5 separate regions of the Homo sapiens genome follow, and regions 1, 2, 3 and 5 are each linked to region 4. Evidence: promoter capture Hi-C in 16 types of primary human blood cells and fetal thymus (Javierre and others, 2016). All regions are on one chromosome and are shown on one strand. Each heading gives the region's core, a stretch centred on a gene start or on the middle of the fragment in contact. The rest is flanking DNA. Distances are from core to core; before and after follow the strand shown. Region 1 has its middle 4.6 kb from the start of TRV-AAC1-5. Region 2 has its middle 4.4 kb from the start of TRL-CAA2-1. Region 3 overlaps LINC01012 (long intergenic non-protein coding RNA 1012). Region 4 holds the start of PRSS16 (serine protease 16). Region 5 has its middle 9.8 kb from the start of TRV-AAC3-1.

The links. Contacts are between HindIII fragments. The CHiCAGO score rates a contact against its expected background, and 5 or more counts as called.
Region 1: a contact is called between a fragment that was not itself captured here and the fragment with the promoter of PRSS16 in region 4, in 1 of 17 cell types (endothelial precursors). The highest score is 5.6, in endothelial precursors.
Region 2: a contact is called between a fragment that was not itself captured here and the fragment with the promoter of PRSS16 in region 4, in 1 of 17 cell types (megakaryocytes). The highest score is 5.4, in megakaryocytes.
Region 3: a contact is called between a fragment that was not itself captured here and the fragment with the promoter of PRSS16 in region 4, in 7 of 17 cell types (megakaryocytes, erythroblasts, naive CD4 T cells and 4 more). The highest score is 7.7, in megakaryocytes.
Region 5: a fragment that was not itself captured here is called in contact with the fragment with the promoter of PRSS16 in region 4 in 6 of 17 cell types (erythroblasts, M2 macrophages, endothelial precursors and 3 more); the score reaches 9.3 in erythroblasts.

What each region holds. Positions count from the first base shown.
Region 1 is chr6:27,756,710-27,759,409 of GRCh38, reverse strand. No RefSeq gene overlaps it. Among named protein-coding and RNA genes, the nearest start is that of TRV-AAC1-5, 4.6 kb to the right of the region's middle. The HindIII fragment of the contact is 2,133 bases long and covers 307-2,439 here.
Region 2 is chr6:27,608,773-27,611,472 of GRCh38, reverse strand. No RefSeq gene overlaps it. Among named protein-coding and RNA genes, the nearest start is that of TRL-CAA2-1, 4.4 kb to the right of the region's middle. The HindIII fragment of the contact is 1,114 bases long and covers 875-1,988 here.
Region 3 is chr6:27,704,216-27,706,915 of GRCh38, reverse strand. The region is part of intron 2 of LINC01012 (long intergenic non-protein coding RNA 1012); the gene reads right to left. The region is part of intron 1 of LOC124901291 (a long non-coding RNA gene); the gene reads left to right. Among named protein-coding and RNA genes, the nearest start is that of LINC01012, 12 kb to the right of the region's middle. The HindIII fragment of the contact is 4,279 bases long and covers 1-2,700 here.
Region 4 is chr6:27,246,413-27,249,112 of GRCh38, reverse strand. It overlaps PRSS16 (serine protease 16), which reads right to left and starts at 1,412. Exons shown (of 12, transcript NM_005865.4): 1 at 1,306-1,412; 2 at 1,065-1,231; 3 at 167-266; 4 at 1-13. The coding sequence starts at 1,375. The HindIII fragment of the contact is 3,507 bases long and covers 1-2,700 here.
Region 5 is chr6:27,639,883-27,642,582 of GRCh38, reverse strand. No RefSeq gene overlaps it. Among named protein-coding and RNA genes, the nearest start is that of TRV-AAC3-1, 9.8 kb to the left of the region's middle. The HindIII fragment of the contact is 1,285 bases long and covers 696-1,980 here.

The DNA.
Region 1 (2,700 bases), core at 124-2,623, 510 kb before region 4:
CAAAATTTGCCACTCTCCAATTTCTGGAGAGAGGCCAAGCATTTCAAGGAGAGGAGCTTGTAATGCAGAGGGGCAAGAGGCAGGAGGTGCCCAGTGGGTGTCTCATTCTGATGGCTTATCTTGAATTATTGTTTCACCTGGTGAAGGGGCCAGTGACATTGTAGGCCCAATCAAGTTACAAATTAATGACAGTCAATCTTGCAGATAATCTCTAGCCAAGAGTGAATATTGTCCTTGAATTAATCTCCTACTGGAGAGAGAATTCTGGAGATGTCTGGTCTGCATCAGGATTCAGCCCCTGAAGCTTCTAAGGAAATATATGACCAGATAAGTGGGCATGGTATGAGCTTAACAAGCATCCAGGTAAATAAATGAGCATAAGGCATGGGGGCATAAGATGCGAAAGGGAAGGCAGTTTTAATGCCCATTCCAAGGCAGTAATTGACGACAAAAGAAAGCACATCTGCAGTTTGTCTCAAAGCTATGTCTAGAAACTGGGGAGAAAGAAGAAAAGAAACAAAGTTTTTAAAACGTGGTTTGAAGCTAAGCTGCTTGGTTACCTTCCAACCTTCTGCAAGATTTTGCTGTTTTTTGTTATTATTAAAACAAGTAATAGGCCAGGCGCAGTGGCTCACACTTGTAATCCCAGCACTGTGGGAGGCTGAGTCAGGCAGATCACTGGAACTCAGGAGTTCGGAGGGGGAAAAAAACCAAGCCTGCGCGCTCTGAGCCCCACCCCCCATTCCCCATGGTGTCTGAGTAGGCTCCCAGGGCGAGCAGGATCCCTCCTCACAGGCGAGACTGGCTTCCTTGGAAAACCAATAGTCGGACTTGCGAGTTTTCCTCCAAGATAATTTTCTCAGGGACTTCTAAATGTGGTGCTGTACGCCTATGGTCCTAGCTACTTGGCAGGCTGAAGTCGAAGGATTGCTTGAGCCCTGGAGGTCTAAGCTGTAGTGAGCCGAGATCGCGGCCACTGCACTCCAGCTTGGGTGACAGAGCAAGACTCTGTCAAAACAAACAAACAAAACACACACACACACACAATGTAAACCAGGAATAGAAGGAAACTTCCTCAACTTGATAATGCCCAATTATGAAAAACATACAACTAATATCATTCTCAACAGCGAAAGACTGAAAATTTTTCTCCTACAATCAGGAATAATGGGTGCCCACTTTCACCATGTTATTCAGCACAGTATTGGCAAGGAAAAAGTAAAATTATCTATGTTCACAGATAACATGACTTTTTTTTGAGAGAGAGATGGGATCTCTCTTTGTCACCCAGGCTGGGATGCAGCAGAGCAATTATGCCTCACTGAAGCCTCGACTTCCCTGGTTCAAGCGATTACCCTGCCTCATCCTCCGGAGTAACTGGGACCACAGGCGCCTGCCACCATGCCCGGCTAATAAAAAAAATTTTAGAGACTAGGGTCTCGCTATGTTGCCCGTGTTGCCCAGGCTGGTCTCGAACTCCTGGGCTCAGGCGATCCTCCTACCTTGGCCTCCCAAAGTGCTGGGATTACAGGTGTGAGCCACCAAGCCTGGCCGTGACATGATTTTTATATATAGAAAACCCTGAAAATTACACACACACACTCAAACACACACACACACAAACTGTTACAGCAAATAAAGAAATTTAGCAAAATAAGGATAAACAACCACATGAGTTCCAGCAGAGAGCGCGGTGGGAAGCGGAGCGCGGCCAGCTGCTCTGGGGCCCTGCAGACCCTCTGGTCTTGGACCTGAGGAGGAGACGGGGGCCCGGCCCCGCGGCGGCCTCTGCTCTGCAGGCTCCCAGAGTCCTTGCTGTGTCTCCCACCGGCCAGGCCCAGGCCTGAGGCAGCGTCGAACCTCTCTTCACTTCCCACCTCGGTGACCTGGTGGCCCTCTGGTCTTCCAGAAAACCCTGCCGGGCCTAGACTAAGCCCCCGCTGGCCGCCAGGACGCAGCGCCTTTGTGTGGCGGCGGGTGTCGGGGGCGGGAAGAATCGCGCGGAAGCTGCCGGGGTGTGCAGGGACCGGGAAGGCGGAGCTAGGGATGCAGGTTCGGTCGCCTCTTTAGGCCACTGCGCCACGCAGATTGGGTCCAGAAGGTGCCGTTAAGTTTCTTCCCAGAAACTGTCAAGGTGCTGGTATGTTTCTTGCCCTTGCACTTTTAGTGTACTAAAATCAACGGCCAAACTCTACTCTTTATAGCAATCAAAGTATTCACCCATGCGCCCAATTTCTTTGCAAATGCCAAGCAAGAAAACCTCAGGTAGATGGAGGGAGCAGATAATTTGACTTTTTTTTTCTTTAATTTCACTATAGTGTCCTCCTCCACACATACAAGGATGAAGTTTTGTTTTTTAAGATGAAACAAATTTGTCATTAATGAAAGGATTGTCAAAATCTTCCCAAAGGTCCTCAGCTTCTGAATCACCTGGAAGCTTCTAAAAATTAAGACTTGTGGGCCATACCAGAGACCCTCTGCACTAGAAGGGGGTATGGCAAGGAATCTTAGGAATAGTCCACCTGGAGAATCACTAGCGTAAGTTCTGGGCCTCACATTCCCTCAGAAGAGTCCCATGAACCTGTGGTCAGCAGCTTAGGGCTGGTCTTCTTTACTGATCTGAGGGACAATGGGAAGCTTAGGACTCCCTGCATGGCATCTCTCCCGCCCAGGGGAGAACAGCTCAACAAATTTCCTCAT
Region 2 (2,700 bases), core at 182-2,681, 360 kb before region 4:
GAGACTGTCTTTATAACCTGCTTAGGTAAATAAAGAGAAATAAGTACTTTACCATCCAAAGAGGAGGCTGATGGAGCCTCCAGCACATGATTATGGTGGAGGAAAGTATGCCTAGCTCTCTGCTTTCTGTAGATATCTAAACCCCAAATTTATATCCCACCCCACTCCAGGCCATGCTTGCATGTAAGGGGCAACTTGTACAGAATAGAGAAAAATTGTTAGCCCAAGCAGTCTGTAGTTGGTTCCGACTCCTCACACTTATATCACATAAACAACAAACATATGGAAAGACATGGAAGTTCTAATCATCCTCCAGAAGAACAACAAAGAACTCAAAGTTATCAGTGCATACAGAATGAAAGGTACAGAACAAAAGAATAGAGCAATAAAGTCATGCCCTTGGCTTCATCTTTAGACCATGTTTTGCTGACAATGCCTTGGGTCTGATGTTTTCCTAGAAGACTTTTTTTTTTTTTCCAGCTAATGTGCCGTGGCAGAAGCCTTTTCTTTTCTTCTCTCTTTCTCTCAGCAGAATCAAAGCCTTTTCTTAATTACAGCATTATCTGTCATCTTGACAGGCTGGTAATGAGAAGCAGTTTTATTTTTGAATATCCAACAAGTCCTAAAGTATTCTTTCTTTAGTTTATCTCCCTGCTCTCTTATTTTACTATAGGCAGCTAGAAAAAGCCAGGTGGCATCTTCAATATATTGCCTGGAAATAACCTTAGCTAAATAAGCAAAATCGTTAGGTATATTTTCTACTTTCCACATTTTCTTTCTTTCTTTCTTTTTTTTTTTTTTTTTTTTTGATATGGAGTCTCACTCTGTCACCTAGGCTGGAGTGCAGTGGCTTGATCTCGGCTCACTGCAAGCTTCACCTCCCGGGTTCATGCCATTCTCCTGCCTCAGCCTCCCAAGTAGCGGGGACTACAGGTGCCCGCCACCATGCCAGGCTAATTTTTTTTTGTATTTTTAGTACAGACGGGGTTTCACCATGTTAGCCAGGATGGTCTCGATCTCCTGACCTCGTGATCTGCCCACTTTGACCTCCCAAAGTGCTGGGACTACAGGCGTGAGCCACAGCTCCCAGCCTCTTTCTTTCTTTTTTCTTTTTCTTTCTTTCTTTCTTTCTTTCTTTCTTTCTTTCTTTCTTTCTTTCTTTCTTTCTTTCTTTCTTTTCTTTTTTCTTTCTTTCTTTCTTTCTTTAATTCATTAGGTATATTTTCTACTTTCCACTCTTTCTTTCTTTCAAATTCATTAGGTATATTTTCTACTTTCCACATTTTCTTTCTTTTCTTTTCTTTTTTTGAGACAGAGTTTCACTCTTGTTGCCCAGGCTGGAGTGCAATGGTGTGATCTTGGCTCACTGCAACCTCGCTCCTCACCCCCATCAGGTTCAAGCGATTCTCCTGCCTCAGCCTCCTGAGTAGCTGGGATTACAGGCATGTGACACCACACCCAGCTAATTTTGTATTTTTAGTAGAGACGGGGTTTCACCATGTTAACCAGGCTGGTCTCAAACTCCTGACCTTAGGTGATCCACCCACCTAGGCCTCCAAAAGTGCTGGGATTACAGGTGTGAGCCACCGCGTCCGGCCTACTTTCCACATTTTCACAACAGTGTTGCTAAACTTTCTGTCTCTAGATAACAAAAGTCCGGTTTCTTCCAGCTTCTAGTAACATTTTCCACACTCTCCATTAAGCATCACTGACTTTGGGACTTAGTGACAGGCAGCAGTTGTCTTCAGGTGTTTTTACTCATATTCTCCTCAAGGTCTTTTCAGTTTCCACTTGCTGTCAAGTCCCAAAGTCACATGGTTCAGAATTTATTAATTATGGCAGTATCCCATTTTTAAGTAAGAAAATCTGCATTTGCTTGTACCCATTCAGGATTTATTGCCTCTCAGCTCCAAATTCACCCTTTTTGCCTGCTTCGTGGAAATGAATCTTGAGTCCTTGGTTTTCTTTTGCCAATTGGCATTGAAGCTTTGTCAGTAGAGGGCAGTGGAGAGACATTGCGGAAGAAAGTGAGTTTTGCTTCTTTCTTCCCATGTATTACTTGGCCTGCTGCTTCCCCAGTGCCTAGCTCCTACATCACGCATGCCTTTCCCCTGCATCAGTCTCCTGCAGCACCCAGCAACAACTAATTTTCCCTGGCATCTTCTTTGAGTGTTTTGTAGTAGAGTGCCCTCAGTGAGAGACCTCTCCACGAAGAGCTTTTCAAGAAACCCTTGAAGATTAATTTCCAAAAAATTCCAGAGGACAGATTTCAAGCAAATTCTGCTGGCATAGCACCATGAGCATTTCTCTGCTATTCCGTGAGTCACAGCCATGCTCTCCCCAACAAGGTCTGGATCTTAGCCAGGGGTGGGGTGAGAGGTAGAGGGCACTTCTTTTAGTGCTTTGTTTCAGCCCCAGGTGAGGTCACTTCTATGTTCAAATAACTGTGTAATTTCTCTCTCCTGATTGCACCAAGACTGATACATACCTAACTATTGTTACATAACAAATCATACTAAAATGCAATGGCTTAACTTAAACAACAATTATCATTTATTCTCTCTCACAGATGTGTTGGTCAGGAATGTGAGCAGAAAACAGTGGGGACAGCTTGTCTCTGCTCCATGATTTCTTAGGACTCAACTGGAAGACTATAAGGCTGGTTGCTGAAGGCTGGGCATGGTGGCTCACACTTGTAAT
Region 3 (2,700 bases), core at 133-2,632, 460 kb before region 4:
CAGAGGTGGCACTACTGTCAAGAATGTCCCCAGCTCCTGTCTTCTTGCTCAATTGCCTTTGTCCCATGGCTTTCATCACGGATGTATGATAGCTGCTGTTCCTCCAGGAATTCTCTCTGCATTCCTGAGAGGCAGAAAGAAGGGCAAAAATGCACAGGGCAAAGAATTGATGGAGTGTTCCAGCCAAGTTGCTCCCTTTCAAAAAATGTTTCCCGAAAACCCTAAATGACGCTGACTTGAATCACAATGATCAGATCCAGGTCACATGTTACCCCAACTACAGAGAAATCAGAAAAAGAAAGAATTTTTAGTTCTCCAGCCACTGTGGTGAAGGAAATCAAAGAAGAATGCAGTTTGAGACAGATAATATATTTCACTTGCCTGAAGGGTACCCATGAACACCAAGAAACTCGTGCAAAATATCAAGTGTATGTGTATTTTTCTGAAGAGTCAGTCCACAGCTTTCATGAGATCCTTAGAGTCCAAAAACAAGGGCTTTCAAGCCCTAGTTTCTTGACTTGAGGGCCTAAATGTTTTCACAAAAAGGATGTCTGCTCCTTTTCATCCCCTCTGTCTGCCATCACGTCAAATAATAAAACCTGAGGGCATGGAACTCTCTTAATTGCTGTATCCTTTCCTTTTTTCTAAAAGAAGATTGTGAATTCATTGTAAATGCTGCTTATACTATTATATACTTGTCTATAATTTGTCCTAAAGTATATTCTTTGGTGTGTGTATTTTTTTTTTTTTTTTTTGAGACAAAGTCTCGCTCTGTCGCCCAGGCTGGAGTGCAGAGGCGCGATCTCGGCTCACTGCAAGCTCCGCCTCCCGGGTTCACGCCATTCTCCTGCCTCAGTCTCCCGAGTAGCTGGGACTACAGGCGCTCGCCACCACGTGCGGCTAATTTTTTGTATTTTTAGTAGAGACGGGGTTTCACCGTGTTAGCCGGGACGGTCTCGATCTCCTGACCTCGTGATCCGCCCCCCTTGGCCTCCCAAAGTGCTGGGATTACATGCATGAGCCACCGTGCCCGGCCTGGTGTGTGTAGGTTTTTAATGTGATTTCCCAAATAGATAATATACTTTTTTTTTTTTTTTTTTTTTTTTTTTTTGTGAGACAGAATCTTCCTCTGTCACCCAGGCTGGAGTGCAATCGCACCATAATGGCTCACTACAGCCTCAAATTCCTAGGCTCAAGCCAATCTCCCACCTCAGTAACCTGAGTAGCTGGGACTACAGGCATGTGCCAATATACATAGCTAAGTTCAATTTTTTTTGTAGAGATGAGGTTTCACTATGTTGACCAGGCTGGTCTTGAACTCCTGGGCTCAAGCGATCCTCCCACCCTGGACTCCCAAAGCATGTCCTTGTATGTTTTCGTCCTTTGTCATTTGCATAAAGTTGGGGAGCAAGGAACATTAACATCCGAAATAAGTTGCTGTGTCCTGAATTTCAGCCTGGCAATAATACTTGGAGATTTGTGTTCTCTGACTGAAGAAACCAGAAGGGTTTTTAAAGATGAGAGGCAGTAACTGGATTTATTCTGGGGTGTCTGAAAGACTGACTAATTCAGGAGTAAAACCTAAACACTGAAGGATTTGCATTCTTCAACATATGACTTTCACTTAATGGGAAGACGGAAGACTTATCAACAAAACTACTGGGATCATCTGGAATCTCACCCTGAAAACACTTAGATCAAAAGTACTAATTGTGAAGTATCAGCTGAACAGTGTATAAAACAGGTTGGAAATGAGTTCTAAAATTATTAAAATGTTAGAATTGAGAAAGTTTAAATCTATTTAAGAATAGCACATAGGTTTATATTCTGGGTAAAATGCATTTAGAAAGTTAACGTTTGCTACTCCTGACAGTAATGAGTCTGAGTTCGGTAGAAAGAGCCTTCCCATCTACAAATCAGCCAAGAGAATGTTCCACTGTGCAGAGAACAAGCGATTTACAAGAAATGGGGAATACTTTTTAAAATAACGAGCTAGGCTGGGCGCAGTGGCTCAAGCCTGTAATCCCAGCACTTTGGGAGGCCGAGGCGGGAGGGTTGCTTGAGCCCAGGAGTTCGAGACCAGCCTGGGCAACATGGTAAAACTCCATCTCTACTAAAAATACATACAAAAAAATAAAATGTAGCAGGGTGTGGTGGTGCATGTCTGTAATCCCAGCTCCTTAGGAGGCTGAGGTACAAGAATCACTTGAACCCAGGAGGTGGAGGTTGCAGTAAGCCAAGATCGTGCCACTGCACTCCAGCCTGCGGGACAGACTGAGACACTATCTCAAAGAAACAACAACAAAAAAGAAATAAAATAACAAGCTAAAAAACTTTAAAAAGTCAGTCTTTCAATAAAATTAATTTTTGTTTTGTCCCAACAATGTTATGTTTAACATAGTTTTGTACCACTTTTCACAGTGAATCATTTTTATTTTTTTAATATCTAACTCAAGCCCCAACTTTTTTTTGCAGTTGAGATAATCTGACTTTCAATCAGCAGATGTATTAGCTCCCTTATGTTGGCCTTAACCTCTTTATGGGTTAAGAAAATTTGGAAAAGGTAAATGGTCATTTCCAAGTTAGGCTCTCTGATGAGAAGAATTCCTGAAATTTGAAAATACGCTGATCAAGTTCAGAGTCTCAGCTTTTGGTGTCTGTGCCCTTTAAACATCAAAAAAGAGAAGTGTGACAAATTGA
Region 4 (2,700 bases), core at 163-2,662:
GCTGCGGGATGGCCTGTGAAGAGTGTATGGGTGGGGGGTGGGGAGGTGAGATGCAAGTTGAGTTTAAGCCCTTTCACTCCTCAGGTCTCACAGCATTGCAATATGCAGCTCCCCTTCCTGGTCCCCACCAGCATCCCAACTCCTTTCCCCCAACATTGCCTCTTACCTCTCATCACTGAGCCAGGCCCAAGGCTGCCCTCACCCCCTAGATGCAGGAATATGGGTCCATCCTGGCCAACCCAATGTTGGTCATTCACCCAGTAACGCTGAGAGGTGGGATGGGGAAGAAGAAATGGCACTGTGAGAGTCCTGACTTATTCTCAATTCCTCATTTGTTCCAGTCTCTCTTCCTAATGGATCTTTCCTTATGTACTTAACAGTGTCTGAAATGAGCTTGTTTATTTACTTGCTCACTTTTCCCCTGTTCATCTCCTCATCTAGAATGCAAAATATACAAAAGCAAATTTTTGACCTGGTTTTTCACTCTTATATCCCCAGAACTGAGGGAGTGGCTCTCACATTGAAGGAACTTGCTATTTCTTGAAGTAATAATTGTAAAATAAGAAATAAATGCAGATGGATTTAGGAATAAGATCCAAGTGGGATGATATTTGGAGACTAAATACAGAGGAAGCACTGAAAAATGGCGAATTTGTTCCTTCTTTCGATAGATATCTTTGAGTGCCTGTTGTGAGCTAGGTCTGATTCCAAAGCTGGTTCAAATTTCTGCTACCTACTGAGACCTGGTGGTAGGTTTTGTGTCCAGTCTGGACAGGGACAAGGGGGTAGGGAGGAGCAGTGAATGTGAATGACAGAGAGAAAGAAATGGTGAAGGGCAAGATCTGAGGGACAAAACGAGTGGGACCCCGAGGAGAGGAGAGAGTAAGGCCAAATCTACAAAGGGCAGGAAAAGGGATACTGACAGCAAGCATAACATGAGATTCAAGCAGAGGGATGGGGAGAACTGAGGTGTGGAGAGAGAAAAAAGTGCAGACTGAGGAAGAGATGAGGGAGACTGAGGAGAGGGCAGGATGGTTAGTGGACTCCCCGTCTCCCGGCCTCACCTGTAGGAAGGATCGTCTGTCGGACACGTTGAAGGGGTCCAGCAGTTGCTCCAGCCACCCCACTTTTGGGAGGGCTGCAGCACCTGGCCCCAGGCTCAGGCCCAGGCCCTGGGCAGAGCTCTCCTGAAACTGCTGAATGTGCTCACCCAGGCGCCTAAGAAGGGAGGCTGTGGGACATGGAGGGAAGGAAGTCAGGCTGGCCCCCTTAGGATGCCCTGCTTGACCCTCAGCCTCCTCTTACCTGGAGCCAAGAGTCCCCAGAGGGAAACCAAGAGCAGAGGGCCCAGCCACTGGGCAAGCCAGACGGCCATGGTGTTCGGGACTCTGTTCTCCCCCAGGAGGACCTTTATCTTATCCTCAGCAGCCGGGCCTTAAATCCATCACCTTTCAGCAGAGGCTCAGGTTTCTTTCCTTTCCTGGCAGGTCAAGCGTCTGTAGGAACTGCTAAAGCGGGGCAGGGACGCCAGAGTCTGTACACAGAGGCTGCTGATGCAGCATCGGAACTCCCAGTTTCTTCTCTCTGGGCCTCTCAGTCTGTTCTTCCCTCAGCTCTCAGTAGCCCTCGCTGTCTCAGTCTCCTCCTCTCCGCTCTTCGGTCTACCTTCTCTTTATCTCAGATTCCTCCTTTGCATGCCTTATTGTCCTTCAACCTCTGTCTCTCCCCACCTCAGCACCTCCTCTGGAACCCCAGTTGCCCACTTATTCTCAGTCTTTTCTTTCTGCCCCTCAGCATATCTTCAGTACCCCTCAGTTGTTCCCACACTCAGTCTTTCCGTCTCTTTTTTCTCAGTCCCCCATCTCTTTTTCAGTCTTTCTCTCCATACTCATCTCTTTGTCCCCCAATCTCACCTTGTCTATTTTCCAGCCCCCTCACTTTCTGCTCTGCTTCACTGTCCCGAGCTTCTCTGACCCACAATCTCACACTGTCCATAGACTCCTTACAGTTCTTTGAACATACCAGGCTTGCTTCTGCCTTAGGGTTCTTATTCTTGTTGTTCCCACCCTATGGATTGTGATTTCCCTATATACCCACGTGGTTTGCTCCCTCACTTCAACTGGATCTTTATTCAAAGGTCATTCATTCAGAAAGGTCTTCCATGGTCAGCTTTTTAAAAATTGCCAAACCTATGGCCCTCTTCTATTCCTTTTCAAACTTTATTCCTAATTCTTTTTCATGGGACTTATCACTATGAGAAATATTGTACATTTAAAAAGTTATTCCCATAAATTTAAAAAATATATCCAGAATCTGATGACTTCTCACTACCTTCAGTGCTACCACTGCTGAGCCACCATCATCTCTGACTTGGGATATCATGGAAGGCTTTTAGCTGGTCACCCTGTTTCTGCCTCATGATTTATTCTACACTCAGCAGACAGAGAGACAGAATTAAATATTAGCCCAATCATTCACAATCATTCACTCCCTGGTTTAGAACACTTCCCTGATGCCCCATCTTACTCAAAGTAAATCTAAAGTTTTGAAAACAGTTTTTAAAACTCTGTATGACCTGGCCCCCTGTTGTATATACTGTCATGATTTCATCTCCTACCCCTCCTGGGTTCACTGCTCCAACTGCATTGGACTATTTCATATTTCACAAGACTCACTCCTTCCTTAGAATTTTTGCTCTCC
Region 5 (2,700 bases), core at 89-2,588, 390 kb before region 4:
CAGGCATGCGCCACCACGCCCAACTAATTTTGTATTTTTAGTAGAGACGGGTTTTCTCCATGTTGGTCAGGCTGGTCTCAAACTCCCGATCTCAGGTGATCTGCCCGCCTCAGCCTCCCAAAGTGCTAGGATTACAGGTGTGAGACACCACACCGGGCCCATTTTTATTTTTAACCAGGTTTTTGTTTTTATTTGTTTTGATTAACTACTGAATTGTAAGAGTTATGTATCTTGGAAATTAACCCCTTATCAGATATATGGTTTGCAAATTTGTTTTCCCATTTAATAGGTTGCTTTTTTTTTTTTTTTTTGCTGTGCAGAAGGCCTATAATACCAGCACTTCGGGAGGCCGAGGTGGGTGGATCATCTGAGGTCGGGAGTTTGAGACCAACCTGACCAACATGGAGAAACTCTGTATCTACTAAAAATACAAAATTAGCTGGGTATGGTGGCACATGTCTGAGGCAGGAGAATCACTTGAACCCGTGAGGTGGAGGTTGCGGTGAGCCAAGATTGCACCATTGCACTTCTGCCAGGGCAACAAGAACGAAACTCCATCTCAAAAAAAAACAAACAAACAAAGAAAAAGAAACTCTTTTGTTTGATGTAATCCCATTTTTCTATTTTTGCTATTTTGGGCTATGATTTTGATGTCATAGTAATTAAATCATTGCCAAGACCAATGTCCTAAAGCTTTCCTCCCAGAGTTTTATATTTGCAGATCTTAGATTTAAGTCATTAATCCATTTTAGTTAATTTTTGTGAATGGTGTAAACAAGGGTCTAATTTCATTCTTTTTCATGTGAATATCTAGTTTTCTCAACATCATTTGTTGAAGAGATCGTTTTTTTCCCATTGTGTGTTCTTGGCAACTTTGTTAAAGATCAGTTGGCCATATATTTATGGATTAATCTCTGGACTCTCTATTCTGTTATTTTGGTTTATATACCTGTCTTTATGCTAGTACCAGACTGTTTTAATAACTGTAGCTCTGTAGTATATGCTGAAATCAGGAAGTGTGATGTCTTCAGCTTTGTTGTTCTTTCTCAAGATTGACTTGGTGACTTTGGGTTCTTTGTAGTTTCATATGAGTTTTATATGAATTTTATGGTCTTTTTTTCTGTTTCATAAAAACTGCCAGATAGATTTGGATACGGATTGCATTAATTGTACATCACTGAAAATTTTAACAAACATTAACAACATTTCACCTTCATGATTAAGTTTAATTCTTTTTTAAGGGGGAGGGGTGCTACTATAAATGGGATTGTCCTTTAATTTTTCTTTTTATGTAGTTTATTGTTTATTATTTCATGTAGTTTATTGTTACTGTATAGTAATGCAAGTGATTTCTGAATGTTGATTTTATATTCTGCAAATATATTGAATTTTTTCATTAGTATTAACACTTCTTTTTAATGGAGTCTTTAGGAGTGTCTCTATAAAAAGTCATGTTATCTTCAAACAGGCTCAATTTTACTTCTTCCTTTCCAATTTGGATGCTTTTGATGGTGTTGTTTTTTTCTTATGTTGAGACAGGGTCTTGCTTGAACTCAGTCTTCAGGTTGACTGATAATGCATGATTCAAATCACATGATTGGTATTTCTGACGAGGTTATGGGGTGTGGCCAGCCTCATCTTAAAAAAAAATACACTATACCCAAGCGGGGTGGTGGGCACTTATAGTCCTAGCTACTTGAGAAGCGGAGGCAGGAGGATCCCTTCAGCCTAGGAGCTTGAATCCAGCCTGGGCAACATAGTGAAATGCTATCTCTTAAAACAAACAAAACACTACTGTTAGGTGGTCCAGCTTTTCATTACACAGGAAGAGATGGGCTCGTCCTCAGAAACTAATCTAGAATGACATCTGACAAAGAACAGAACATAAATAATTCTGCTTTTCTAGGAAACTAATAACAGAAACCAATAGCCTGTTCTGAGGAGAACTGGGTGGCTAGGATATAAGAAAAATGGTAAGCTTTACACAAAAAATATTTTAAACCATGCATATTATCTATGCAAAATTTTAAAGAATTAACAAACTATTACATGAAATACAGTTTAGAAATGACAAGAGATGGAAAAGACTATATTTATGCTCTGGATAAAATCACTTAGGGGAGCATTTTAAGGATACAGATCTTCTCAGTTTATACCAGAAATAGAAATGGAAATAGGGGTGAACAAAAGTAAACAAACAATAAAGAAATCCAGAAGATCAAAATGGAAAAAAAAAAAAAGAGGGAGAAAGAAAATTTTTCTACTATTGAAATTATATTCCATAAATAATCTAAAAAATTATTGGACTCTGGCCGGGCACGGTGGCTCACACCTGTAATCCCAGCACTTTGGGAGGCCGAGACGGGCAGATCACAAGGTCAGGAGATCGAGACCATCCTGACACGGTGAAACCCCGTCTCTACTAAAAATACAAAAAATTATCCGGGCGTGGTGGTGGGCACCTGTAGTCCCAGCTACTCGGGAGGCTGAGGCAGGAGAATGGTGTAAACCCGGGGGGCAGAGCTTGCAGTGAGCCGAGATCGCACCACTGCACTCCAGCCTGGGTGACAGAGAGACACTCTGTCTCAAAAAAAAAAATTATTGGATTCATTTTCACATGAAGATAAAAATTTTAAAAGTAGAATACTTAGCCCCTTTTGGTGGTGGTGTGATATCTCACAGTAGATGTTACCCAACATG